4 separate regions of the Homo sapiens genome follow, and regions 1, 2 and 3 are each linked to region 4. Evidence: promoter capture Hi-C in 16 types of primary human blood cells and fetal thymus (Javierre and others, 2016). All regions are on one chromosome and are shown on one strand. Each heading gives the region's core, a stretch centred on a gene start or on the middle of the fragment in contact. The rest is flanking DNA. Distances are from core to core; before and after follow the strand shown.

Region 1 (6,211 bases), core at 1,740-4,239, 180 kb before region 4:
TTTTTTTCATTTTATTTCTGAGTAGTAGTATCCCATTATATAAATGTAGCATCCATTTGTTTACCCATTCTCCTCTTGGTGGACTTTTGGGGTTTTTCCTATTGTTGTCTATTATGAATAATGCTTTTATTAACCTTCTTACACATAAATTTTTCTGGACATAACACTTTCATTTATCTTGGATAATTATATAGGAGTGGAATTGCTGGGTAATAAAGTAGGTGTGTGTGTAACTTCAGAAGAAACTTCCAGATGGTTTCCAAAGTGGTTTTATTATACTCCCACCAGCAATGCATGAGAGTTCCAATTACTTCATATCCTCATTAACACTTTCTATGGCCATTGCTTTTCATCGTAGACATTCTAGTGGGTATGAAATTATATCCTGTGGGTAAATTTGCATTTCCCTGATGGTGAGTACTTTCTCACATGCTTATTGGTCATTTGTTTGTTTATTTGATAATTTCCAGTTCCAGTCTTTTGTCCTGTTTTCTAAAATTGGATTTGTCTTTCTATTATTGATTTAGAGGAGTTCTTTGTTTTCTGGATATGAGTCCTTTGTGAGAAATAGGTATTGTGATTACTTTTTCCCAGTCTGTGGCTTGCCTTTTCATTTTCTTAATGGTGTCTTTGAGCAAAAGTTTTAAATTTCTATGAAGTTCAATTTGTTAATCTCATCTTTTGTAGTTCATATGTTTTATGTCTTCAGAGATCTCTCTGTCATAGGATCACTAAGATATTCTCCTGTTTCTTTTTTTGTTTTTTTTTTTTAAGAAGCAAATAGTTTTAGGTTTTATGTTTAGGTCTGTATGCCTTCTTAAATTGATATTTGTGTGTGATGTTACAGAGGAGTTGAAACATTTTTTTTCAATACACGAATGCAGTTGTTCTAGCACCATTTATTAAAAGTCTCCCCTGGCCCCTTGAATCACCCTGGAACCTTTGTTGAAAATCAATTGACCATATAATGTGGGTCTGTTTCTGGATTATCTGTTCTGTCCTGTTGATCTGTTTGTCCATCTGATCTCTCTTTCTTTTCTCTACATTATGCCAGTATTACACTGTCTCATTACTGTTGCTTTATAGTGAGTCTTATGGTTACATAGTATGAGCCCTCCAACTCCGTTCTTTTTTGTATGTTTAAGGTTATTTTAGCTATTCTCAGTATTTTGCAATTTGATATCAGTTTTAGAGTCAGCTTATATATTTCCAGACAAAATCCTGCTGTATTTTGAATTGAAATTGTGTTGGATCTATAGATCAGTTTGAGGGGAATTAACATCTTAACAATCTTGAGTATCTTTAAACCCATCTGTAGTCAAATTAGTCAATTCTGTAGTCCGTGGACATGGTCTTTGCTCGTAAGGCATAGCCAGTGTGAGGTTTCAGTAGAAATCCCAAGGTGTTTTAAGCCCATTAATTTTATGTCACTCAAGCTTCTAACTCTTTCTCCTATGGGTGGGAAACAGCTGAAATCTCAGTTCCTATCTTTCAGCATCCTAGCTCTTGCTCCTGTCTGGACCTCTTAGAGTTTCCCTTGCACATGCACAGTTTAGGAAGATGTGAGGGCTTGAAGAGTTTACATATGTGGAGGTTCTTCTTTCTGTGGCCCCATCTTTCCAGGTTTTCTCCCCTCAATATCCAGTCATCTGGTAGGCTTGAATTTTGTCAATTCTGCCTTCAAGCCAATAAAACTGTGGTTCCATATTGAGTTCTATTTACCCAATCCTGCACAACCTGGGGAATAATCTGGAGAAAAGCCCTACAAATGTGGGTCTCACCTAATGCGGTTTCCCTCCTTCACGTGTCAGATTCTCTCTAGTTTGTATGTGTTTTTGGTTGTTCTCTCACATCATCAACTAGTTGTTTAAAATATATTTTCCAGGTATTTTAATCTTTTGGTGGGAGGGTTGGTCCATATCAAGCTACTTCACCATTACTAAAACCTCATGAAGATTTTTAAGCATGTGGCTTAATTGTTTGTATTTTTGGTATTGGCATTTTGCAAAATTGGTTACACTTTCTTTGAGAAATAGTTTTCTCCACTCCTTTCAGCCAACCATTCCCATTCATATGGGTGAATTGTTTTAATGTTAAAGTTTTTCAATATATCGTCTGCATTATTAAATCTTGTCTTTTTGCACAAACCTGGATTTAGCAGAAACCTAGAATACTTGACATAAAAAAAAAAACTGTTCAGGTTACAATTTGGGGGGGTGTTCTGCCTGCTCCAAGGTCTTTTTGCTTTGCTTGGTATCTTTTATGTACAGAGAAAAATGAGTCTGTTCCTAGCCTAGTCAAATAAAATCAATGTAGTATTATGGAACATTGTTGATAAAACATTCTCATCATGCACGTAGAACATGGATCAGCTATGGTAGAAAGAAACACAACAGTGAGAAAGAGGTCAGGAGGAGGAGTGGGTAAGATTCTCTCTCATTCGAGCTGAATCAACTCTCTGCATTAAGTTACAAGGGACTGGCGAAGTAAAGCAATGCATGTTAGACCAGGTCTGATTGTGCCATAATCATTACATGACTTTTTTAGAGCCATGCCAACTCTCTAGGACTAAATGCTCACCAAATACATCTGATTGTTCTCATTGTATTTATTTCTTAGTTTCAGTGATAATAAGAATGAAATGGTAAGTCATACTAGAGGTGAGTTCTTACTAGGTCATTGCAGTTGTGTCTTTCAGAGCTGACCCTGGGTAAAATTGTGAGATGAGTTGAGTTTATCTTTGGTAATTCCATCTTTGCTTTAAGCTAGTCCTTTGTCTCTGCCTACAGTTGTCCCTTACTGCAGCAAGAAGCCCAGTGGTCCCTGTCCAGAAAGAGTTGCTGATAAGGAAAACAGTTAATTCATAGGCTAATTCACACTACAGTGATAGAGATTGATGTCATAGTACTCTATTCCTCTTAGGTGTGTTTGCATATTTTAAAAGATGCTGGAAGAGCTGCTTTATCCATGAGAAATAGACTTTTAATGCTAAAATTTTAATATTGAAATCTACGGGTGGGGTATATTTTAGGAACCCCATATCTGTTCTCTGTGTCTCTGTGCGTGCATTGCTTTTTCATTTTGGCTCCTAGACTGGGGCTCAGCTTGAGCTTGCACGTTGCTGCTGCCTTTAAAACACCGCTCCCTTGTCACATGCAGAGGACGTGATGGCTGCCTGTCTGTGTTAAGTAAGAAGGAAATGGAGCCCCCCCCCGCATTTGCCTGCCACAGCTGTGGCAGCAACCTGGACCTGGCACTGAGAGCATGTCCCTAGCTTGACCTCGCTCCTGGAAGCCACCTTAGATTATGTCCAGCCATAATATGACAGGTTGGCTGGTGCAACATTTGGAGCTCTAGTTCCCATCTTGGATACTGAAAGCCTTCATGGAAAAGCAGTGTAAGGTCAGGCCTGCCCAGTGTGTTTTGGACTGTGAAAAGGGCATTGTCCTAGGATCCTGGAGGCACTGTCAAAGCTCAGGAAATGTTGGCTGATCCTCAGTCTGTCTCACATGGTTGTCTTGAAGGTCAGATGATATAATATATGGGGAAGTGCTTTGCAAACTATAAAGTACTATATGAAGGTATGTTAGTGGGATTTTCATTTCCATGTTCCTATTGTCACAGCAAGGAGATCCCAGTCATTTCCCCTACCCCTGCCCTGGGACCATCTTGTATACTCAGCAGGTTCGTTTTATCTTAACATTGACTTTATGGCCAGGCGTGGTGTCTCACACCTGTAATCCCAGCACTTTGGGAGGCTGAGGCAGGCAGATTGCTTGAGCTCAGGAGTTTGAGACCGGCCTGGGCAACATGGTGAAACACCATCTCTACAAAAAATACAAAAATTAACCAGGTGTGGTGGTGCACACTTGTAGTCTCAGCTACTTGGGAGGCTGAGGTGGGAGGATTGCCTGAGCCTGGGAAGTGGAGGTTGCAGTGAGCTGAGATAGTGCCACTGCACTCCAGCTTGGGTGACAGAGTGAAACCTTGTTTCAGAAAAAAAAAAAAAAAAAGAAAAGAAAAGACTTTATTTTATACAAGAAGCCTCAAGAATTTCATGGACAGTGGCTAGCATAATGTTGGCTTATCTCCATGCCTGTTTTCATGATCTCCTATGCGGGTTCTGCCATAAGCTCAGATTCTATAATCTCAAAGCACTCCTTTAAAAAAAATTACTTAAATTGGACGGTGGTCTGTGATATACAAGGCTGGTATTGGGGCTACTGACTGCTACTTACCTCATTTTTTAATTTTTCATTAATTATACTGAATTAGCTCAGGCAAAACTATTTTGTTAAATGTAAGACATGATTGAGAAGTGACATAAGAAAAACCTGCTGGGTGCAGACCTGTAATCACATCATAGATGCTGGAGAGATAAAGATGAACGAGACATAGACACTCTCACAGGAGCTCATAGGAGGGAAGGCAGATACATATTATGTATGCAATGCAGGGAGCCAGGTCCCATGGCAGGAATAAGCCCAGTGCATAGTGTTGGCACATGGGACTACATAATCAATTTGGCCAGGAGGGTTTAGAGAAAGCTTTTCTGGGGAGGTGATGTTTAAAACAAGTCTGAATGATAAATAGGACTGTGCCTAGAAGGGAACAGAGTTCAAGAGAGGGAGACAGTTTGTACAAGAAACGAAAAGGAGTGTGGAGGTGCTAAAGGTAGGGGGTGTGGAGGTGCTGAAGATTGGGGAGTGGGATGGGGGGATGTGGCCAGAGATTTCGGAGGGCTTATGTGTGGGCTTGCCCAGGACAGGCTCAGTTTGTTGGTTACACCAGAATAATTATACAACAGCGCCACTGTTCACTTTCAAAAGGGTGCCAGGTCAGACAATAAATTGCATGTTCACACCACTTGTAGGCTAATAGAAATGATAAGATACCAGTGAAGGGTTTTAAGCAGAGATCTGATTTGGTGGCAGTAAGTTCAAGGGTGGGGAAGGGGTGTTAGTTGATAAGACTAGATCTAAGGTGTGGAGAACCATTATAGAGACTTGGAAGGTTGTCTCAGGGCAAGATTATTAGGGCCTGAATTAGGTTGGAATATGTAGGGGTGGAGAGGAGGGGGACAGCTTTGAGAGATGTCTGTGTAGTAAAATCAGTAGGAATTAGCAATCCACTGGATGTGGAGGATGAAGAAAGAGGAGTCTCAGATGATGCTCAGATGGTGCCTCAGAGTCATTTACCAGGGTAGAAACTGGGAGAAGATGATGAATCCAGCTTTGGACAAGTGGAGTTTGAGGTGCTTGTGGGAAATCTAAGTTGCAATGTCTGGGAGAAATTGGAAATAAGATTCCGGAGTTTGGCAAGATGCCTGGGCCTGAGATGTAGCTCCAGGTGCCAGGTGGAAGACAGGCACATGGATAAAGAGGCCCATTGAGAAGATTTAGCAAGAAAACCAGCAAGGCTGACCAGCAGCAGAACTCTGTGGAGCATCAACATTTAAGTACTTTGGCTCATGAATTATAGTTTATCAAACCAACCAAACTATGCTGAAGGTTTACTTAATGAACACCCATTTTGCTAAGATATTACTTGTGAAATAGTATCTGAGTGCTTGCTGTATGCCAGGGACTGTTTCACCAGATTGTTTACCGTCTTCCAAATTGGCACCAAAATGTTTGATAATGAAGTTAGAAGAAAGAACAGAACACAAAAGGCTTTGAAAAGTAATGTTTGCATTGGTGGTAACAGTGGTTTCTTCAAAGTTTGATGATACAATGTGCTGTGTGAAGGTTTATGCCTAATGCGGGGGTAAAAAGAACAGATGAACCTACTCAAAACCTGCAGTGAGGGGTCTTCACTGAACTTAGATAGAGCAAGAAAAACTCTTTTACATTCATTGCTTTGTGGAAGTCTCTCACAGAGCTCAAGGCGTATAAAATTATCAACTGGATCAGAAACCCCTCACCACTGTTCATCTTGTTAAAGGTGTCACTCTGCATCTGTGCAGAATTCCCCTAGGCACTGAGGCAGAAGTAGAAGTGATTTATTATTTTGAAAAAGCTGCCTAATGTCAATCTTTATTCTAACTAAGCCTTCCTGAAGCTAAGAACTGGATCTGAAGTCTGATCAAATTGAAATTTATTATAGTGATGAAACAGCCCTGGATTTTTAATGCAGCCTTCAGATTCCATCATTGTTGCCATGTGTGTGATTGTCACTATGTTGGACTAATTTTTGTCTGGAAGAGTGGAGT
Region 2 (6,527 bases), core at 3,923-6,422, 160 kb before region 4:
AATTATACCTAATTTGATTAAAGTTTTGGTGGCTGGGAGGTTTGCTAGTTGAAAAACACATACAGGAAAAAAAAAATGTACAGGGGAGTGTATTGCTTTGGTGTAGTCGTTTAAGAGTTGACAAAAACCCCAAATGTATTCTTTTAAGAACCTTTTAAAATGCTGCGACAAGGGTCAGGTTACAGTTTTTGCGTTGTTAGGGGGGCACATGAGACTCAGCAGCTACAGGCCTTGTTAATGTCTGCAAACACTCAGTGCTAATGTGGAGACTCAAGCCAGGCTTGAAAGTGATAAAATCAGGATGGGAATGTTGGCTTTGCTGCCCATCAACTGTTAGACTGGAGACAAGTTACAGGCATTTCCTTTTTTGTGGGGTAACTGAGACCAGGAAAAGACAATTGAAAGTGGTTCCAGTTAAAATGGGAGCCACAGTTTTTTCGTAGTATATATCTTTAAAAAGGTTTGATTAATACTGTTCTTAAAATGACAACAACAATTGTGAAAGGAAATTTCATTCATCTTATATTTATCAGTGTTTGGGTTCCAGTGGCACCTGTGTGCTAATTCTTAGAACCAAGAATGGATCACATAACTCAGTAGGTATTTCTCTGACTGATTTGAAAGCATGATAACAGCTTCCACTTCACGCTGACTTTCTCAGCATTGTGCCGAGCAGAGTTATTTTTGCAAAAAGGTTTGAAGATTTCATCAGTTTTTCCAGTAGACAGGCATGGCTCCACCAGTGTTGGTCTCCTCTTTGTTGGTGATGAACTCGACATCCGAGATTTACTCTGTCAGGGGTTTGCTGTGATTGGAGTAGTGTATTAGTCAATTTCATGACTTCCCGCATCCACTACAAGATCTCACTTTTTGATCCGGGGCTGATTTTTGTGGCACAGTTTGTATTATGGGATGTATCTGCTACTCAGAAAGGGAGAACAACAGCCATTTACATGGTGGGCAGGAATAGGGTAGTTTTAAGCAAGGAGGGGTGTTAGAGTAGGGACTGATTTAAAAGTGGTCATTCTGTTCATCAGAGACTATTCTCATGCTCTGACCATTTAGTTTATCTAAATCTTAGGATTATAGGGATTTTAATAATTAATACTCAGATGATGAGTTCAGGTGTCTCTGTAAAATGAATAATGCATTTATTATTAAGTCTAAATACCCTACCATTCTGAAGGCGGGACTGCATGTCTAATACCACCATCTTATCTAATGGTTCCTTGGGATCCACCCAGGCACAGGAGAACATAACAATGCTTGGAGGGGTTCTAACCTAGGACTTCAGAAAGAATTCATCGACAAAGACTGAAGCTTAACTCTAGGAGGGAACTGTATTGATTTCCTTAAACATACTAAGGAATGGCAATTCAGTAGGACTCTGCTGTCCCCTTCCAGCCCCTCCTCAGTGAGGACCTGGTGGGGACACTCAGCCAGAGTGTGAAAGGAACAGCTTCAGGGCCCTGCTCAAATGTGTCTGGGAGCTGTCACTTTTTCCATGCCTCTTTCTCGGGTGTTGGACGTCCTCATTTGAGACTTTTAATTCCTACATTCTTGGTCTTTGCCTCTCTGAATGCTTGAAGGTCACACTTAGGTACAGCCTTTATAGAACCTTTTGTCTGATATGCAGAATATTGACTGCATGCTGGCTGTGTCTGTCTGTCTGTGCCTCTGTCTTTCTCTAGCCAGGGATTACAGACTGCCCATGGGCTGAAATCAGCCTGCAGACCAGTTTTGCTTTGTATGCAGCATGGAATAATGCTTTTGAGGTTTTCCAACTTGAGCTCTTCAGACAGGGCAGGGTTCTCCAGTGTCCCACATCCCCTGTTGTCTGAATTTCCTCTGAATTCACACCTCTATGCCTCCTTCTCTGGCCTCAGTTTGCAATCCTGAATCTGAGCATTTGTCCCATGTGTTTACTGGGCAGTGTGCAGTGGCCTTGGGGGAGACTTTGAAACATGTTTTAGTGAGAAGGATCACTTCTTTACTGAAGTCAAAACTGAAAATACTTTCCCTTCGTGGAATACCATACAGGCGTCTCTCTTGCACTGTTCAGCATCCCATCCTACTCAGTGGCATTCCCACTCTAGGTTTTGGGTAGTACAGAGTCTCACTGCTTTGGGGAGCTTTTGGGGGCATGGTGGAGAGAGAAATCTCTTCATTTTTTCAATTTGTTTGGATCAGAAGATTAGCCTGCTTTCAGGTAATAGGTCTACTTTTAGTGATGCCTACAGTTCCCTGAATGCCCCCCAAAAGTTAATTTCTGGTGTCACTGTTAATCCTTACAGTCAAAATTTCCTGGGAATTGCTATTGGGGATCTGTAGCTGTGCTGGAGATAGGGGCATGGGTAGGGGAGGACCATCAGTTTTGGATCAGATGGACTTGGTTCTGCTGCCTGTCCTTCCTTGCTGCGTGACCTTAAGCAATGGTTGCCTTATGTGTAAAACAAGGGGCTAATGATACCTAAACCCAGGGTTGCTGCAAAGGTTACATGAGCTTATGCACACAAGCACACACCCACAAAGTGTAGCATTAGGATCTGATGCAGACTATGTTCCCACCCACTTGGGAAGGAAATCCGTGCCCCATTTACTTCCATGTACTTGGTGGTGAATCATCTAAAAGATACTGGAAAAATGTGATTACAGATGCCCCCTTTCTCGGCCATTGCTTCAAATCCTAGACAGCTATTGAACGTCACCGGATAGACGTCATATTCTAGGAGGGTGTCAAGTACATACAGGTCTGTGTTTCTATGTGCTTTTTGTAGGAGCTATCAACTATAAAGCTGTGGGTATGAGAATTTCAGGGCAAGGTCGGGAAGGTGTAGGAGGGATTCACTAACTCTGGGGAAAGTGTGTGCTGCTTTGTCAGTTTCCTGTTCGCTAGGCCACAGGGAATATGTTGGCTCTTTCTGAATCTGCCCACCAGAGCCAATGTCATACCTTTTCCCAAGCCACTGCTTGAGGGTCCAGCTAATTGATGCCACCGCATTGCCTCTCCTGGTGAGGACCGACTGTGCCATGGGGGTGGTGGCTGTGGGCGTAGACAGCCCTGTTCATGGGCATGCACACTGCCATGGGTGCTCCATGGGAATGCTGGTAGATAGCAGAACATGGATCAGGAGTTCTACTCTCCAGGATAGCATGACCCAGCCATGGGCTCAAGGAATTGCTCTTTGGGATATGTTTGAAACTCATCCCCTACTCTGGCCGATTCTTTCAGTACAGATACAGAAATGCAATGAGAACCTTCTCCCTGTAGTTCTGTTAAGATAAATGAGTGGTAGTGGCTCATACCTGTAATCCTAATACTCTGGGAGGCTGAAGCAGGAGGATTGCTTGAGCCCAGGAGTTCAAGACCAGCTGGGCAACATAGTGAGATGCCAGGCATCTCCACCAAAAAAAGAAAAAAAAATCCAGGCATGGTGGTGTGCACCTGTATTCCCAGTTACTTGGGAGGCAAGAAGATTGCCTGAACCCAGAGGTTTGAGGCTGCAGTGAGCCATGATTGTGCCACTGTGCTCCAACCTGAGTAACATGAGTGACACAGTGAGACCCTGTCTCAAAAAAAAAAAAAAAAAAAAAAAAAGAGTTAATGTTTATAAGGTGTTTCTAGGTCCCAGGAAAAAGAAATGTTTTAAAAGTAGATTGTATATGCTACTTGTTATTAATTTCTTATCTCTAGAGATTGAATGGTAAGAGCCAGGGCCAGCATTGTACATTGTCAGGCAGCATTGCCCCTGTCGTCTGCCTTTTCCTCCTGTTACTAGGAGCTTGTTAGGTTTGGTCACCAGCCTGATGACCTGATCAAATGTTGCCTGTCAACTTGGAGTGACTGTGGTTGTTTATTTTGTTATTTATTCACCAATAAATTGAGTTGGTTCACTCTGTGTATTTTTACAGCATTTGGCCTTTTCCCAAATATTTGCCTTAGTTTATTAAATTAGCTTCTCAGTTATAAGTTAAAGTGTGTGTTGACTTTTATGATTTTAATTTTACAGGCTTGGTTGGCTTTGAATGACCAGATGGCATCTCTTGAGTCTGTGAGCAGGTTTTGTTTCACTTAGGACTTCACCCCCACCCCGTTCTTAAAAATGGTGATATGTTAAATCCACTTTAAATCTAGTATTTGATTATTAATTAAAATATCTCTTATGCATTTTGAAGGTAAAATTACAATTTTGTTCCATGTGAAATGGGAGCATGTGTTGACAAACCGTTGATTAACTTGAGTGGATTTGGGTTAATCTTTTTACTCTGCTCCATGCTGCCTGCCTGTAGGGTAATATAAATCCGTTGGGCTGTTGCTAGGCTCAGCTGCTTCTGAGTAGTTTGACAGGTTTCATCCTGTTAAAGGCTCTTTTTCTCTAGGCCCTAGATTCTAGGGGTATTGGGGTGATGCTGGTGAATGGAGTCTAACTGCGTATTTGCTTCTTGCTTCCAGCACCAATTGTGGCCAATGGAGTGAGGCAAAGAGCACTGGTGTGGCTAAATTACTCCTTCTGCAGTCCCCAGCATATTATTGGATGCTCTTTTTCCCTCTCCCAGAGCTTTCCTTATCTTCTAATTTCAAAGATAAGCGTTACCTGTAGGCAACGCACCCGACCTCTATCCCTGTTGTGGTAGCTACACATAAACATAGCCATCATGGCCAGGTCCCTTGGGTGGTCACATTTCCTACTGTTCTGATCACCTTCCACTATCAACACTGACCAGTGTGCCTGGCTAATTCCAAACCGTGCGAATGGCTGTGTTGCCTGGGCTCATGAAGCCTGTCAGGAAGAGCTGTGGACAGATGATTTTTGAAAATGAGGGTGATTGCAAAGGGACAGAAAGTATGAGACATCGTGGATGCTGTCTTTTCCTTAGGCCTTCAGTCATTTGAAGTCAGGACTTCCAAGCCTGGATATCCAGTGGGCTTCTGGGGAAAGTGGATCAGAGCTCAGCAAGGATTGAGCCCCAGCGACTTCCAACAAACCATCCCATCCAACAGAGGCTGTCTTCACTATGCAGACCTTTGAGCCACCTCAGAAGACACCAGCCTTCATGCTCATCCTTTACACGTCTCTTTGGTTCATGTACCAGTCCCTTGTCCTCCTCGGTGACCAAGATAGGAATGGTGTCAACGGATGATTATGGCATGACATAGAGTAACTCTTTGCATAAAAGAGTGGACAGGGCAGGCACTTAACACTTGAGGACCCCTGTTCCAGTCAGCCACAGATGTATTTATTAGGCCTTAAACTGATGGGATGGTTCTTGGATTTTTCAGTTTAAAACCTATAGGGGGACTTTACTTTTGGCCAAATGCTGAAACAAGTATTGGATTTATCTTCCCATGTGAAAAACAAAATATGGACAAAATAAATGAAACAATGATTTGTAAGACACTGGATACATCAGACAACAAAGGCCAATGATTCCTGAGAGATAGGAAACAAATGAGGTGAGACCTCTGAGTTTTTTCAAACTGCCTTAAAAGAGTTTCCAAGCTATAGCACAGGAAAAGGGAACCATGTGGAGCCCAGCAGACTCCCTGAGTTGAGGATTGGATCTGAGAGTCCAGAGAGACTAAGGCCACTAGAGATCATGGGATACAGTACTAGAGAAGAGACAGCTGCACCAAGACATAACTCTGGAGGTGTACAAAGTTCTGAGAACTGATCAGTGTAAAGAAGCTGCCTGAGTCTGGGGAAAGCACCATTCAAAAGGAGCAAAGATAACTGTTTCTGGTGCTCACACGGGGCCAGAAATAGTGCTTCTGCCACCAACCAGACTGGAAAACTTCAAGAGTCATGGAGCATTGGGTAGAGTAGAGTACATAGAAGGGCCTTGCTTGCTTAGTGGGGAATAACTAACCCAACTGAGCATGGCTTTAAATCTAAAAAGCAAGATCTGATAGGGCCGAACTATTTCTGAGTAACTTAGCTGTGTCCCAGATCAAAGCTGATTTTATAGAAATACAAAACTATCACTCAATAGGCAAAAACCAGTGTCTGGCATCCAACCAAAAATTACCAGATGTACAAAGAAGCAAGAAAGTACAACCCATAATGGGAGCAAATCAACCAATCAAAACTGACCCAGAATTAACGCAGATGTTACAATTAGCAGATAAGGACATTAAAATGGTTATTATAACTATATTCCATATGTTAAGCAGAAACATACTTGTCTTTAAAAAGACAAGTAGAAAAGTGAAAATGGAGAAAATAAACAAAAAGACCCCAATTGGATTTGAAACATGGGTTGCTTTTCTATGACTCCATCCTTATGTTACTTCAACCGAACCCATATGACCTGAACCTGGCCCCTGCTAATTTATCTGAACCATAAGCTCCTACTTATCTTCTCAGTGCTCTCTCTAGCCAGGACTGTGGGGTCATCCCTGCAGTGCTAACTCAGTGATGCCCAGGGGTCACTTGACCCTTTAATCTTCCTTCATGCCTGCTGTGCCAATGCCTGACCTGAGCAATCATCTCACAGATGATTGGATGTTGCTGGCTGGACCCATGGCA
Region 3 (6,266 bases), core at 631-3,130, 130 kb after region 4:
TCTGTTACTTTCAAAATTTTCTCATTTGAAAACTTGGCAACCTTGGATTGGATGGATTCATATTTCTTAGTATAGAAGTTCTTGATATAACTGAAAAATTAAGTTAAACACTTAATAAGTGGTGGTTACTCAGCACTTTTAGATGCTGTTTATAATAGATGACCTTTTCTAACTAATTTACAGTTTTTTGAAAGATAACTGAGAGGTTGAGGGACGGAGATTTTCTTCAAGCAATTTTTTTTTTCATTTTAAATGAGCTCCCAATGTCGGAGTTTGGAAAACAAATTTGTCTTTTTAAAAGAAGGTCTAGGAAACTCAAAACCTGAAGAATTGGAAGAAATCAGAATAGAAAATGGGTATGGTTATGATACTGTAGATTTAACGCAGGACATTTCATGTTGTTCCTAGTTATAGGGGCTGAACTTATTTAATAGCACGTGCATTTTGATTTTTAGATTTTTAAGGGAATGTCAAGAGAGTAATGATTCTGTTTCAGGCTTCAGGCCAGACTCCTTCAGAGTTTTCCAAAACAAATAATTACTGAATCATTAAAGTAAAATTTCTGAGAATAGATATTCCTTAATTTCCTTCATTAACTTTGGCCATTAAAAGTCAAGAAGCTCTCTCATTTATTAGCAAACTTTTCTCCTTATGATTCTATTTTGATTGTCCTTTTGTTTGAGGAAGCAGCATATGGTGGTTAAGAGCATAGGATCTAGAGGCAGATACCTCTGAGTTAAGGGTCCCAGCCCTTCACTTGTGAGCTTGAGCAAGTTACTGAATGCCTCTGAGCCTCTTTCCTCCTTTTGAAATGATGATAAGAATAGCAGCCATCTGAGCAGTTATTGTAAAGGTTAAATGAGATAATGCTTGTGAAGCACTTAGCCCATTGCAGGAGTCTTGATGACACTGTGTACTTGAAAATAGATGTTACCTGTTAAAATTCTTGTTTAAACTTCCACAACTCTTAAAACTCTTTTTTGCTAGTCCTTCCAGCTGTTTCCTTTAGTTTCTTTTCTGTGTCTTCATGCATCTTTTCTATCTCCTGAAAGTGAAAAGACTAACATTGGATCCAGAGCTTGAAAAGCGTTTTTTTCCTGTTACAATGGGCAAAAGAGTACATCCTTGGGTTATATTGGCACCTAGTATCAGTTATTTTTCTTGAGCATCTGATCTGCTCTCTACTCTAGTGGAGGCCTCCTGCTTCACAATTGCTCACCCCTGTGTTTTCTCCCCAAATAGAATACTGAGTTTACTCTGGACTCTAGAGTCAAACATACACAGTATTCTAGTCTTACTGTTCATTTAAGCAAGATATGTGCAAGACACTGCATTCTTAGTACTGGCAGTAAGTTAAAACATTTTTCGTCTTGATGCCAAAGTTTAGACAATTTTATAAAAATTAACCTTTGTAAAAGATAATGAGTTGATAAAATATTCTCAGTAAAGCAGCTACGTGGTAGAAAAACTGTCCTTTGCTTATGAGTTTCTCCAGAGTTAAGACCATTGGGTTCCATCTGAAGGCAAGACTTCAAGCTTGTCTTACTGGTCTGTTTTGTGGCTCAATTTGTATGAAGTCTATGCACTCTTCCACACGTGTGTATTTACTGAACTATCGAGTTATTTTAGACTGAGAAAGTATTGGAGTTCATTCCTACGGTCCACTGCAGAGCACCTTGTGCAGTTTGGAGAATGTCAACTTTTCTACCTGTTAACTTCCATTGTCTTTACTTTTAACGCCATTGTCTGTGACTCTAATGGTGTCACGGCTCAGGGTTTAGATTTTGTGGTTACATTCTATTCTTGTATGTCAAGAGTGGTGTATAGAAAGCTGAGGGGGATTATTTAGTCTCTTGACTGATTTTTTTTTTTTTTCTGAAGAACTCAGTTTATTATGTTTGGTGGTGAAATAAAAATTGATGTGCATGGATGTTAAAGATTTGGGTTAAATTGTGTGTTCATAGATGCCTTCTCTTAGTATATAATTTTTTAAATTTAGATACTTAAAATACTGTATCCCTTTATCTAAGATTAACATAAGTCTGTTTCTTAACCAGGATAAAAAAATCTAAATTTAAATGTGATGTTGGATGAGTTTCCAATCAAGAAATTGATTTTTTAAACTTTGTGACTAGTTATCCAGTGGGTGGATTTTACCCAGTGTGTGTATGTGTTTTCTGCTTAACTCTGGAAGGTTAGAAAGAGAATTTGAAACTAAGACAAGCCAAGCTTCTTGTTGCTCAGTATTTTTGGTAAAAATATGGTCAGATTGTTTAAATTAACTATAGGCTTTGGAATTTTAAAAATAATTATATCTCTTGGTCTCTTGACACATCAAGAATTAACTGTTTTGTATATGCGTTGAGTATTAATGTTCATGTTTTCTGCAGTAGAAATTTATAAACCCTTATTTATTTGCCAGACATGATCCCTTTAGAGAAATCTAGTATCTAAAACCTGAATTTTTAAAACAAAATTTAAAATTTTTGTTTCATAAAAACAAAAATGTGATTACCTCATGGCTTTTTTCTTATAGCTTTTGATTGTTTTTTAAAATCGTAGTTCAAAAACATTAACCTAAAATTTACCATCTTAACCATTTCTAAGTACTGTTCAGTAGTGTTAAGTATATTCACATTGTGCCACTAACTTCCAGAACTTTTTCATCTTGCAAAGCTGAAATCTTACCCATTAAACAACTCCCAATTTCCCCCTCTCCTCAGCCTCTGGCAACCACCATTTTACTTTCTGTTTCTGCAAATTTAACTACTCTAGATGCCTCATATAAATAGAATTATAGGGTTTTAATATTTTTGTGATGGGCTTATTTCACTTTGTGTAATGTCCTCAAGGTTCATCCATGTTGTAGCATGTGTCAGAATTTCCTTCCTTTTTGAGTCTGAGCAATATTCCATTATATGTTCCATATTTTGTTTCTCCATTCATCCAGCAACGGACACTTGGGTTGCTTCCACATCTTGGTTATTGTGCTGCTCTGAACATGAGTCTGCAAATCTCTCTTTGAAGCTTTCACTTTTTTTGGATACATATCCAGAAGAGGGATGCTGGATCATATGGTAACCCTTTTTAATTTTCAAGGAACCACCATATTGTTTTCTATAGCAGTTGCACCAGTTTACATTCCCACCAACAGTGCACAAGGGTTCCTATTTCTCCACATCCTTCTAAACACTTGTTTTCTTTCTTTCCTTCCTTCTCTTCTCTTTCTTTCTTAGCCATCTAATGTGGCAAAGTGGTAGCCATCTAATATGTTGAAGTGATTGTTTTTAAGGGCTTGTTTGTGGATAATTAACCAGCTGAAAGCTAACTACAGTTTGCCAGTGGAAGCTTTAACTGAAAGGAGAGTAAGTACCTCTAAAAGGAGAATTCAATTTTTCTAGTGACTTAGATTTGTTATGCCAGTACTTTTTCACAGAAACACTTTTTGGGTAAAATAGTGTACACCTGTTCTATTGTTGATAAAGCCCAATTTAATTAGGAAATTTGTTCTCTAAGATTTAAAACAATAATTGAAATAATGTATTTTTATTAAAAACTGTTCCCAAGATGTTAGCTTTTAGCTGTTCTGGTGATCTCAACTGTTATTTATGAGTGTTTCTTTATTTTAAAATTTCACCTTAACCGGTTACAGTTTTAACCATAAAGATTATTTCAACATATGATTTTGAAAATTTATTATCTTGTAAATGGGAAAATGTAGTGATGGAACATAGTTTACTGTATGTAGTTCTTCACTTGTTTGAAAAGTCACAATATATTTAGGCAAATTAATTTAAAAGTGTCTAGTATTTAATATTGCAATTTTCACTCATTAAGGACAGGTCCCCCGTGTTTCCCCCTTTTTTTTTTCCAAGTAGTTTGGGAGGATTTGTTTTTCCAGCTGAAAAATACTATGGTTAAAAATAAGGTTTAAAGGCGAAAGTTGAAGTCTTTGAGGGTTGGGATACGTTTCTGTTCTTAAGAGTCTTGTAAATTCAGATGCTAAGCAAATTTCTTTAAAATGATTTCTACCCTCCCCCTTTCCATTATAAAACTGGATATGTTTCAGTGGACCAAATCCCAAGTAGGCTGAATTTGAAATTTGTGGGCTGGGCGCGGTGGCTCATGCTTGTAATCCCAGTACTTTGGGATGCCGAGGTGGGTGGATCACCTGAGGTCAGGAGTTCGAGACCAGCCTGGCCAACATGGTGAAACCCCATCTCTACTAAAAATACCAAAATTAGCCAGGCGTGGTGGCGGGTGCCTGTAATCCCAGCTACTTAGGAGGCTGAGGCAGGAGAATTGCTTGAACCTGGGAGGCGGAGGTTGCGGTGAGCCAAGATCGCCCCATTGCACTCCAGCCTGGGTGACAGAGCAAGACTGTGTTTCAAAAAAATTAAAAAAGAAATCTGTGGTGTGAATACTGGTACGTGGTGTACACAGTGAGCTCTTAATAAGTATTTGAATTAACAAATGAGACAATGATTGAATAATTGGATGAACAAAGAGAATGCAGGTTTTTAAAAGGTTTCTTTAGAAATATTGTCGGCCCGGCACGGTGGCTCCTGCCTGTAATCCCACCATTTTGGGAGGCCGGGGCAGGTGAATCACCTGAGGTCAGGAGTTCAAGACAAGCCTGACCAACTTGGAGAAACCCCGTCTCTACTAAAAATACAAAAAAAAAAAAAAAAAAATAGCAGGATGTGGTGGCACATGCCTGTAATCCCAGCTACTCGGAGGCTGAGGCAGGAGAATCGCTTGAACCTGGGAAGCAGAGGTTGCAGTGAGCCAAGATCGCGCCACTGCACTCCAGCCTGATGACAGTGTGAGATGCTGTCTCCAAAAAAAAAAAAAAAAAATTAAAAAGAATGTTTTAATTCTTTAGTTCCCTGTCTGAGATTCACTGATTGGTAAGAAGAAAGTTAAAGAATCTCCTTTGACTTTTTTTGATATAGATATTTAAATTCTATTACTTTATAGTAAGGTTGGGGTTTATTTTCTTTGCTTTATAATAGAAGAGCATTGATTATTCTCTTTGCTTTATAATAGAATACCATTTAAATAGGAGTTCCCTGAGTGTGTTTACAATCATTTGATCTGGCTAAACTATTTTAATGTTAATGAAATTTTAAAATTTTGGAGGAAAAAATTTAAAAACTACACAGGTGCACAAAGAAATAAAAATCACCTGCTTTTTCACTATGTAGAGACCATTGTCTACTATTTCTCAATTCTGTGTTACATCTGTATGTTAATAACTGTAGGATTAGGGACTGAGTACTGTTTTTAACCTGCTTTTAAAAAATTTACATCTACATTTTTTCCCATCTAAATAGTGAGGAAGAGTATCAGAATTTTGTAGGCTTGTGGTGATGGTTAAATTAGATAATATTAATGTTGGGTACTTAACATAATATATGGCTCTTAATACTCTCCAGATTTCAGATATAGTCTGTTTTACCATTACTGCCTTTTTATCAAACCTATTCTCAAAAAAGTGAGAAAAGTGCTGAGATTACAGGCGTGAGCCACCATGCCCGGCCTCATGGTTCTTTCTTAATAATAAATTAGAAGAAGTAGAATTACAGGGTCAAAAAGTATCCATTTTAAAGCTTTCAATGTAATTGCCTGTTTATCTTCTAGAAAGTTTGACCTAGTTGTATTTTAGAGTGTCATTTTCTTGAACTTTATCATCATTAAAGTTTTAAATTTGGAACACTGGCAATTTGATAAGTATATTAGGATTCTTCTTATTGCAAGTAGCAAAATACAACTCAATCTAGTTTAAGAGGGGAAAATGTAGTCATTGGCTAACACAATCTAATTTTGGTTTAAGAGACAAATCTAGAGTCTCAAATGATCTCAGAGTGTAATAATCCCTGACTTTTGTCTTGATATTACTTGGCTTGTATACCTTTGCTCTATTTGCATGCTGGCCTTACTCTGCCACTGACAGGCTGTCTGTATGGTGTGGAAGAGGACGGCTAGCATCCCCATACCTGCATCCATACAGTTTGTAATATAAAAAAAAAAAAAGTAAAAAAAACTCCCTCTCTCTTCTAGTGTCTATATATCAGTTTCCTAGAAGAAAACGTTTTGCCCTACTTGGCCATGTGAATGGAGTTCCCTGATTACATGAGTCAAATATGTCTTATTGTAGCATATTTGATGGTCTTCTTGTAGAATATTATCTTACTATACACAGAACTCTTGACCAGTAATTAATGGGCCATGAGTTTTTGTTGCAAGTCATTTGAATTCATATT
Region 4 (6,690 bases), core at 2,235-4,734:
CAGCAACACTTTAGAAATTGTTATTGAGTCAATGAACAAATGGATGGTTGAAAATAGGGTGATGGATTGGGAGTACAGTCAACCTAGCATCTTTTAAAATAATTTTTAAATTGACAAATAATAATTGTACACACTCATGGGGGTACACAGTGATGTTTTGATATGTATTGTGTACAATAAATCAGGGTAATTGGCATATCCATTATCTCAAACATTTATCATTTCTTTGTGTTGGAAAATTCAATATCCTTGTTCTAGCTATTTGAAATTATATATTGTTAACTATAATCATCCCACAGTGGTATAGAACAGTACAGCTTATTCTTCCTATCTAGCTATAATTGTGTTTACTTTAACAAATCTCTCCCTATTCATCCCTCCCAGCCTCCAGTGTCCTCTGTTCTACTGTTTACTTCTATGAGATCAACTGTTTTTTTTAGCTTTCACATAGAAGAACATACAGTGTTTAACTTTGCCTTCCTGGTTATTTCCTTCAACATAATGTCTCTCCATTCTACCCACGTTGCTGCACATGATAAGATTTTAGTCTTTTTTATGGCTGAGTTGTATTCCATCGTTAAATACACACACACACACACACACACACACACACACACACACACCATATTTTCTTTATCCATTCTTTTTTTTTTCTGGACACCTGGTCAACCTAGCATTTTACCTAAAGGCTAGGCAAGGGCCAATGGAGGCAGAAGGCCAAACCAGTCACAGTGGGGCCAGGGATAGGAATAAGGCAGCAGCGTGGGGGTGGAAATAGAAGAAAACTTAGGTAATTTGATCCCCAAGTGGGAGAACATGACCCCTGTCCTTGAAAATGCTGCTACTTTCAGCGGTGCTGCCGCTTGCTGCCCCTGTGCTGGGACTGACAGGCCTTGCGCTCTCCAGTCCCACTAAGAAAGCAAATTGGATTGGTCACTTCCCTGTTTAAACCTTCCAAGGCCCTGCATTGTTCTCAGGATGAAGTCAATTCTCCTTTCTCTGGCTGAGTCCTGGCTCCTCCTCAGCCCATCACTGCTACTTGCCCTCATCTCTCTGTGCCCACCGGCCACCCTGCCTTCCTGCAGATCCTACCGCCTGCGGTGTTCTTTCACCAGCCTGTCCTCTCTGCCTGCAATGCTCATTCCCTGCCCCCATGTTCCCTAGCAAACTCTCCTGCGACCGTTAAATTACAGCCTAAAAACATCCGCTTCTCTTTTCCCCTGGGGGCTGCCAGTTCCCTGGGGTAGAGTTCAGTCTGTTGTGTCCAAAGCCTAGCCAGTAGATGCTCCCATGTTTGTTGAATGAACAGAAGTTGGGACGGGAAACCAACAGACGCTCAGGACTGGGGTTTGTTTTTGTTCCTGTAAAACTGGATTGGTTCTGCAGAGGCACAAACAAGCCCGTTGATTTAGATCTATCGAGGAATTGGGGTAGGGGCAGGGGTGGCAGTTTTGCTAAGAAGAAAAGCAGGTGAAAGTGGGAGATTCCAAAAGAGACCAGAGAGAAGGCAGTGTGTCCTGCCCAATCTGCCGCTAGGGTCAGAGACCAGCTCCCTAGTCACACTCGGCCAAGGCAGGCTGCCGGGCTGACTCCAACTCTAAACAAAGCCAGGCAGCCGCCCAGGTGGGTGAAGGCTGCAGATTGCGCTCAGGCGTGACGCCGGGGTGCAGGTGGGAGCGACGCCCGGGTGCGTGGGTGCAGCGCTCGCCCGCCCGCGGTTAGGCGCACCGCGGGAACCGGTCAGGTGCGCCGTGTGGGGCGGGGCGGAGGCAGGGCGTGCGCCCCCAGGCTGGTGCCTGGGGCAGAGGATTCGCCTGCTTGACGCGCTGATGCCTTGATTTGGTCTGACAAGTGGAGGCTGCTTTGAGAAGCGGCCTGTATTTTTGACATTCAGGAAGCTAGAAATAACCAGCTGGGCTCCTGGCGCTCTGGCCGCAAATGTCTTGCGCTTTCCAGGCAACTGCCAGATTGAAGGGGCTTTTCCCCAATGTAGACCTGTGCTCTGTGTGCTAGGAGGCCGAGGTTCCAGTCCAGGCTCGGCTTCTGACTCCCTACTTTAGGAGGAATCACTGAATTGACTGCAGCTCGGCTTCTGCTCTGTAAAATGGGGCTGTTGCTAGCTGAGCCTCTTCTGCCTCTGGTAGAAAATGATTCCAAGTGGCTGCCCTGTCCACCCTAATCCCATGGCCCGAACTTGATGTCTGCTGCTTCTAGAAGCCTAGTGCTCCAAATATCTGCTCTGGGAGGGACTTGCAGATGATCCTGATTGGAAATGAGGCTGATTAACCTTTTGTGTATCATTGACTCTAGGACAATCTGTTGAAACCTAGGGGCTCTTACCCTAGACAAATTAACACACCAGCCAGATACAGCTTACAAGGGCAGAGAGTTGCTGGTTTGAACCACAGACCCCTGGTTTAACATCTGTAATCTAGTCAACCCCTCCTCTTTCTTGAAGGCTGAACCAAACACGAAGGGTTTTCCCCACCTTCCAATCCTCATACATGCAGACACCCCCTTTTCCTGCTTTCTCCTTCAGTCATCTTCCTCACCATCCCCCATGCTTGGGCACTCTCAGGAGGGAAATTGTCCTATAAATATCTGTAAAAGGCATGGTATGTCCTGTAGCAGAGAAAGCAAAAAATAAAAATATAATTCCTCCACCCCTGGCATGGCACGTGCAGAGCTCTGCCTGATCCTTCTCTCCCACAAGCCTCGGGGGTGGGTAAACAAAAGTGAGAGGTGAAGCTGCTGCAGCGAAGTACCCCTTCAAAATCTTCAGTACCCTTCAGAGCCAGCGCTGTCATCACTATCACATAAACTGTACAACTCCAACGTCAACCAGCAGCCGCCTGGCTGGCAGCAGGAAGAGCCAATGCAATTTTGCACAGTGGCTTGCTTGCCCAAGGTATTGCCTGGCAAATGGGCTTCTTGTGCAATGGGGAACCACAGGGAGGGGCCTCTTAAATGTACCTCAAAGAAACAGCTCTAACAATGGATGATTCAACAGGCTAGTAATTGGCGCTCACTCTTACCACATTGTTTTGATAAAACGACATAGCCCAACTGGGGATATGAAGGCAGTAAGTAGAAAAGCTAACCTCTTGCTACTCAAATTGTGGCTGAGAACCAGCGACATCCCATCACCAGAAGCTTTATAGAAAAGCCAGGCTCTGTCCCAGACCTATTGAAAGGAGATCTGCATTTTAACATGATTGCGAGAGGATCCACATCTTAAAGTTTCAGAGGCCTAATCCAAAGTCTTCTGATAATGATCATTAGAGTCCCAGCCACCCCCGACTTCCCCCTGGGAAAACCACAACAAATAGAACAAATTCCTCCAAGCTCTGCTCATAAGAAGAACCCACAACCCACAGACACCCCCTCACTCAACTAGAGACCTCACCCACCTGTTTGCAGAGTCACCCACCTTGGGCTACTTCTTTTCTACTATTTAATCTTCTGGGAAAACAGAGGTCTTCTATTTGGAGATAAAAATGACAAAGGAGAACCTCCTGAACAGCATCCAGTTTGCTTTTAGCTTTAGCCATCTCTCTGACCTCAGTGCTGCTGGACTCAGTTCCAAGATCTAACTGTCAAATGCTTTAGGGGAAACGGGAAGAGAAGTCCCTGGAGTAACCCATGTGCGCAGCCTGGCACTGTTTTCACTTGCCTTTGGAAATGAAGGTGCAGAAACCATGGGAGGTAAGGAGGGCACAGACTAGTGACTTCCAGTGTGGGACAGAGGGGAAAAGATGGAAGAGAAGTGCAGAAAACCACTCGGGAAAAGACAGGCTGGAGTGATGCCTGCTGAGACAGGGCCCTGATCTCCCAGGACTTCCCTTTCTGCCTGTTCTGTAGAAATGTCTCGGGTTTTGTGGTTTAGGAAAAGAGATGCTTAGCAAGCTTGTAGAAAATGTAATGTGGGCACTTTGTTGCTGTCCTGGCTTTTAAAGGACTCTGAAGCAGATCAGCTTCAAGGTATTGGCTATTCTGTTTGCAGCCTTAGAAAGACATCCTTGATGTTTTATTGTTCTGCCTTTGCTAAGAGCTGGAAACTCTCCCTGGGGAAATGGCTCACCTTGAAAGAGATGCTATCGTAGCTGAAAATGTTTTAGCTTCACTTCCAATCTCTGGTTCCTTGTGGGAAGTAACTGCTGCTGTGGTATATATGCCCTGTGCCTTTTATTTTTACCATCTTTACCTCGGTGGACACAGCTGGTTGAAACTCAGTAAAACTTATGCTTCCATGGAGATTGATTCAGACAACAGGAAAAATAAGTGTAGAAAAAAACTGCACAGTACAAGGGCTAGATTCAGGTTGTAGAACAAAGTGATTATTACTTAGAATCCTGGATTAGCAAGAGAATAAGAAAGATGCTGAGATTACCTAGTGTTATCACCATCCACGTGAAACGTAGAATAAAACTTTTTCCCCACCACATAGATATTGGGCAGTTTATTATAGATGCTACAAAGGGATTTATTATATTTTTCCCAAAATGGTTAATTAGAGGCATCCCAAATTACAACTCCTTTAGCATAACTCCCAGCTCCATGCAGCCTACTTACTAAGGACCCAGCTACTGACAGCTCAGCTCTTTGCCAATCCAACTTTTTTTCCCCATATGCTCAAACTTTTCTTCTCCAAGAAGACTTCCTGAATGATCCCAATTCATAGGGATCTCATCCTTAATGCAGGGGAAATTCACTGTTCTGGAGTAGTCTACCATACCATCACGCTCTTCTTTTTGTGTAATCCTGGATTTCTTCTCCAGTTGTTTTATTCTTGCCTGTCTACACAGATAGATCAGTAGCCTTCAATAGTCTGCATCTCCTGTTATCTTGCAGCCTCCTACTATAAACAGTAGGTGCTTTACTTATGCCAGTTGGGTTGACCTAGACAGTAGTCTCTAAGTAGCAGTCCTTGGCTCATCCTTCTGAAACCAACGAGCTCTTAGGCAGGCTGAGAAAGGGTTAGGACTGTTCACTCTGGGACATCCTTGGCTCTGTATGAGTGTTGTTTTTAAAAGCAGGGATTTTGTCTCCAGTGCATTGAAGAGATAAAACCCCATTGTCAGCATATTTCTTCAGGATCTTTCTGTGTTAGATCTCACTGCCAAGCCAGAGTCCCCACACACAGACTCTCACTTTTCCCCCATCAATAGGCTGAAGTGAGGCAAGTAGTAGAATGTGCTCAAATCATGGCCTATTCTTAATAAAAGAAACAAGGACAGCTTGGGGCTGGCTCGTCTCTTCTCAAATTCTCCTAGTGTTCTGAACCAAATGTATGAAACGAATAGATTTGTTTTATTCGCAGGTATTAATGCTTCTCCGAAAGCAGTTGTTTGGGTGGCTGGAATATCAGTAGTCATTGACCAATAAGGCTTGCAGGTGTGAATCAGAGCAGTATTCTGGACTTCCAGAGTAGAGCTGCCATCTACTACTCTACATCACCTTCATCCTTACAGAATCACTGAGACCATTCATTCATTCACAAGCAGTTGTGTCTGCTACATGCCAGGCACTTGTAGTAGGCATTAGAGATACAATGGCAAGTGAAACAGACACTGCATGTAATCTACTGAGAGAGACTGGGAATTAATTCAATAAGTAAAAGTAAGTATATAATTATCAATTGTGATAAAGGCCCTGAAGCAAAAGAATAGGATGTTCTACAAGAATATTACAAGAGCTTTATCTGATCTAACGTGTATGGGGAGGGGAAGCCTCAGGGAACGCTTCTTAGGGGAAGTGACATTTGAGCTGAGCGTTGAAAGAAGAATAAAAATTAAAAAGTACAGAGGGGGCCAGGTGCAGTGGCTCACACCTGTAATCTTAGCACTTTGGGAGGCCGAGGCAGATGGATCACTTGAGGTCAAGAGTTCGAAACCATCCTGGCCAACATGGTGAAACATCATGTCTACTAAAAATACAGAAAAATTAGCTGGGTGTGGTGGCAGGGTGCCTGTAATCCCAGCTACTTGGGAGGCTGAGGCAGGAGAACTGCTTGAACCCAGGAGGCGGAGGTTTCGGTGAGCCAAGATCGCACCACTGCACTCCAGCCTAGGCGACAGAGTGAGACTCTGTCTCAAAAAAAAAAAAAAAAAAAAGTGAAGAGGGGTTAGAGAGTGCCCAGGATACAAAGAGTTAGTTCATTGGAGGAACTGGAGTAAAGTCCTTGTGGCTGGATTAAAGGGGACGAGGAAAACCAAGATATAAAGAGGTAGGCAGGGGCTGGATCACATGTGCACACAGTTTTGAAGACTTTGGCTTTTATTTTGGAACAGTGGAAGGCTGTTTTAAGCAGAGGATGAGAACATTAAATTTATGTGTCCAGAAGATTGCTCTGATGAGACAAGCGGTGAACAAAAACATCATTACTCAGGTCTCATCCAACTCTTCCATTGTATATTCTAATAAACCACCCAAGTTCTGCTTTCAGAGCTCTGAGCCAAAGTGAGTTATACCTCCCCAGGCCCACTGAAAATCCCAGAGAGCTTACTGAATGGCGTGGGGGCCCTGGTAAAACTCACCGTTCAGGCATTTGAATCTGGGCCACTCTATTACTATCAGCATTTTGCCTCCACTCCCAAGGAAGAAATCCTTAAAATTATAACCTTTGGGTCCCCATGCCCAGGCAGGCTGACTTCTCTTGGATCACAATAATCATGGTTTTGACTATGAATT

Evidence for each region. Contacts are between HindIII fragments. The CHiCAGO score rates a contact against its expected background, and 5 or more counts as called.
Region 1: a contact is called between a fragment that was not itself captured here and the fragment with the promoter of LINC03033 in region 4, in 1 of 17 cell types (activated CD4 T cells). The highest score is 8.7, in activated CD4 T cells.
Region 2: a fragment that was not itself captured here is called in contact with the fragment with the promoter of LINC03033 in region 4 in 1 of 17 cell types (activated CD4 T cells); the score reaches 7.4 in activated CD4 T cells.
Region 3: a fragment that was not itself captured here is called in contact with the fragment with the promoter of LINC03033 in region 4 in 17 of 17 cell types (neutrophils, activated CD4 T cells, naive B cells and 14 more); the score reaches 34.5 in neutrophils.

Annotation. Positions count from the first base shown.
Region 1 is chr14:61,392,086-61,398,296 of GRCh38, forward strand. The region is part of intron 2 of PRKCH (protein kinase C eta); the gene reads left to right. Among named protein-coding and RNA genes, the nearest start is that of PRKCH-AS1, 72 kb to the left of the region's middle. The HindIII fragment of the contact is 3,111 bases long and covers 1,435-4,545 here.
Region 2 is chr14:61,406,131-61,412,657 of GRCh38, forward strand. All of the region lies in intron 2 of PRKCH (protein kinase C eta), which reads left to right. Among named protein-coding and RNA genes, the nearest start is that of PRKCH-AS1, 87 kb to the left of the region's middle. The HindIII fragment of the contact is 7,709 bases long and covers 1,319-6,527 here.
Region 3 is chr14:61,697,599-61,703,864 of GRCh38, forward strand. The region is part of intron 1 of HIF1A (hypoxia inducible factor 1 subunit alpha); the gene reads left to right. Among named protein-coding and RNA genes, the nearest start is that of HIF1A-AS1, 4.9 kb to the left of the region's middle. The HindIII fragment of the contact is 693 bases long and covers 1,535-2,227 here.
Region 4 is chr14:61,567,056-61,573,745 of GRCh38, forward strand. LINC03033 (long intergenic non-protein coding RNA 3033) reads left to right here and starts at 3,485. Exons shown (of 3, transcript NR_039985.1): 1 at 3,485-3,705. LINC01303 (long intergenic non-protein coding RNA 1303) reads right to left here and starts at 3,598. Exons shown (of 5, transcript NR_110416.1): 1 at 3,431-3,598; 2 at 2,489-2,622. RefSeq lists enhancers at 1,190-1,691, 1,692-2,191 and silencers at 1,533-1,602, 1,683-1,842, 2,583-2,775. The HindIII fragment of the contact is 753 bases long and covers 3,152-3,904 here.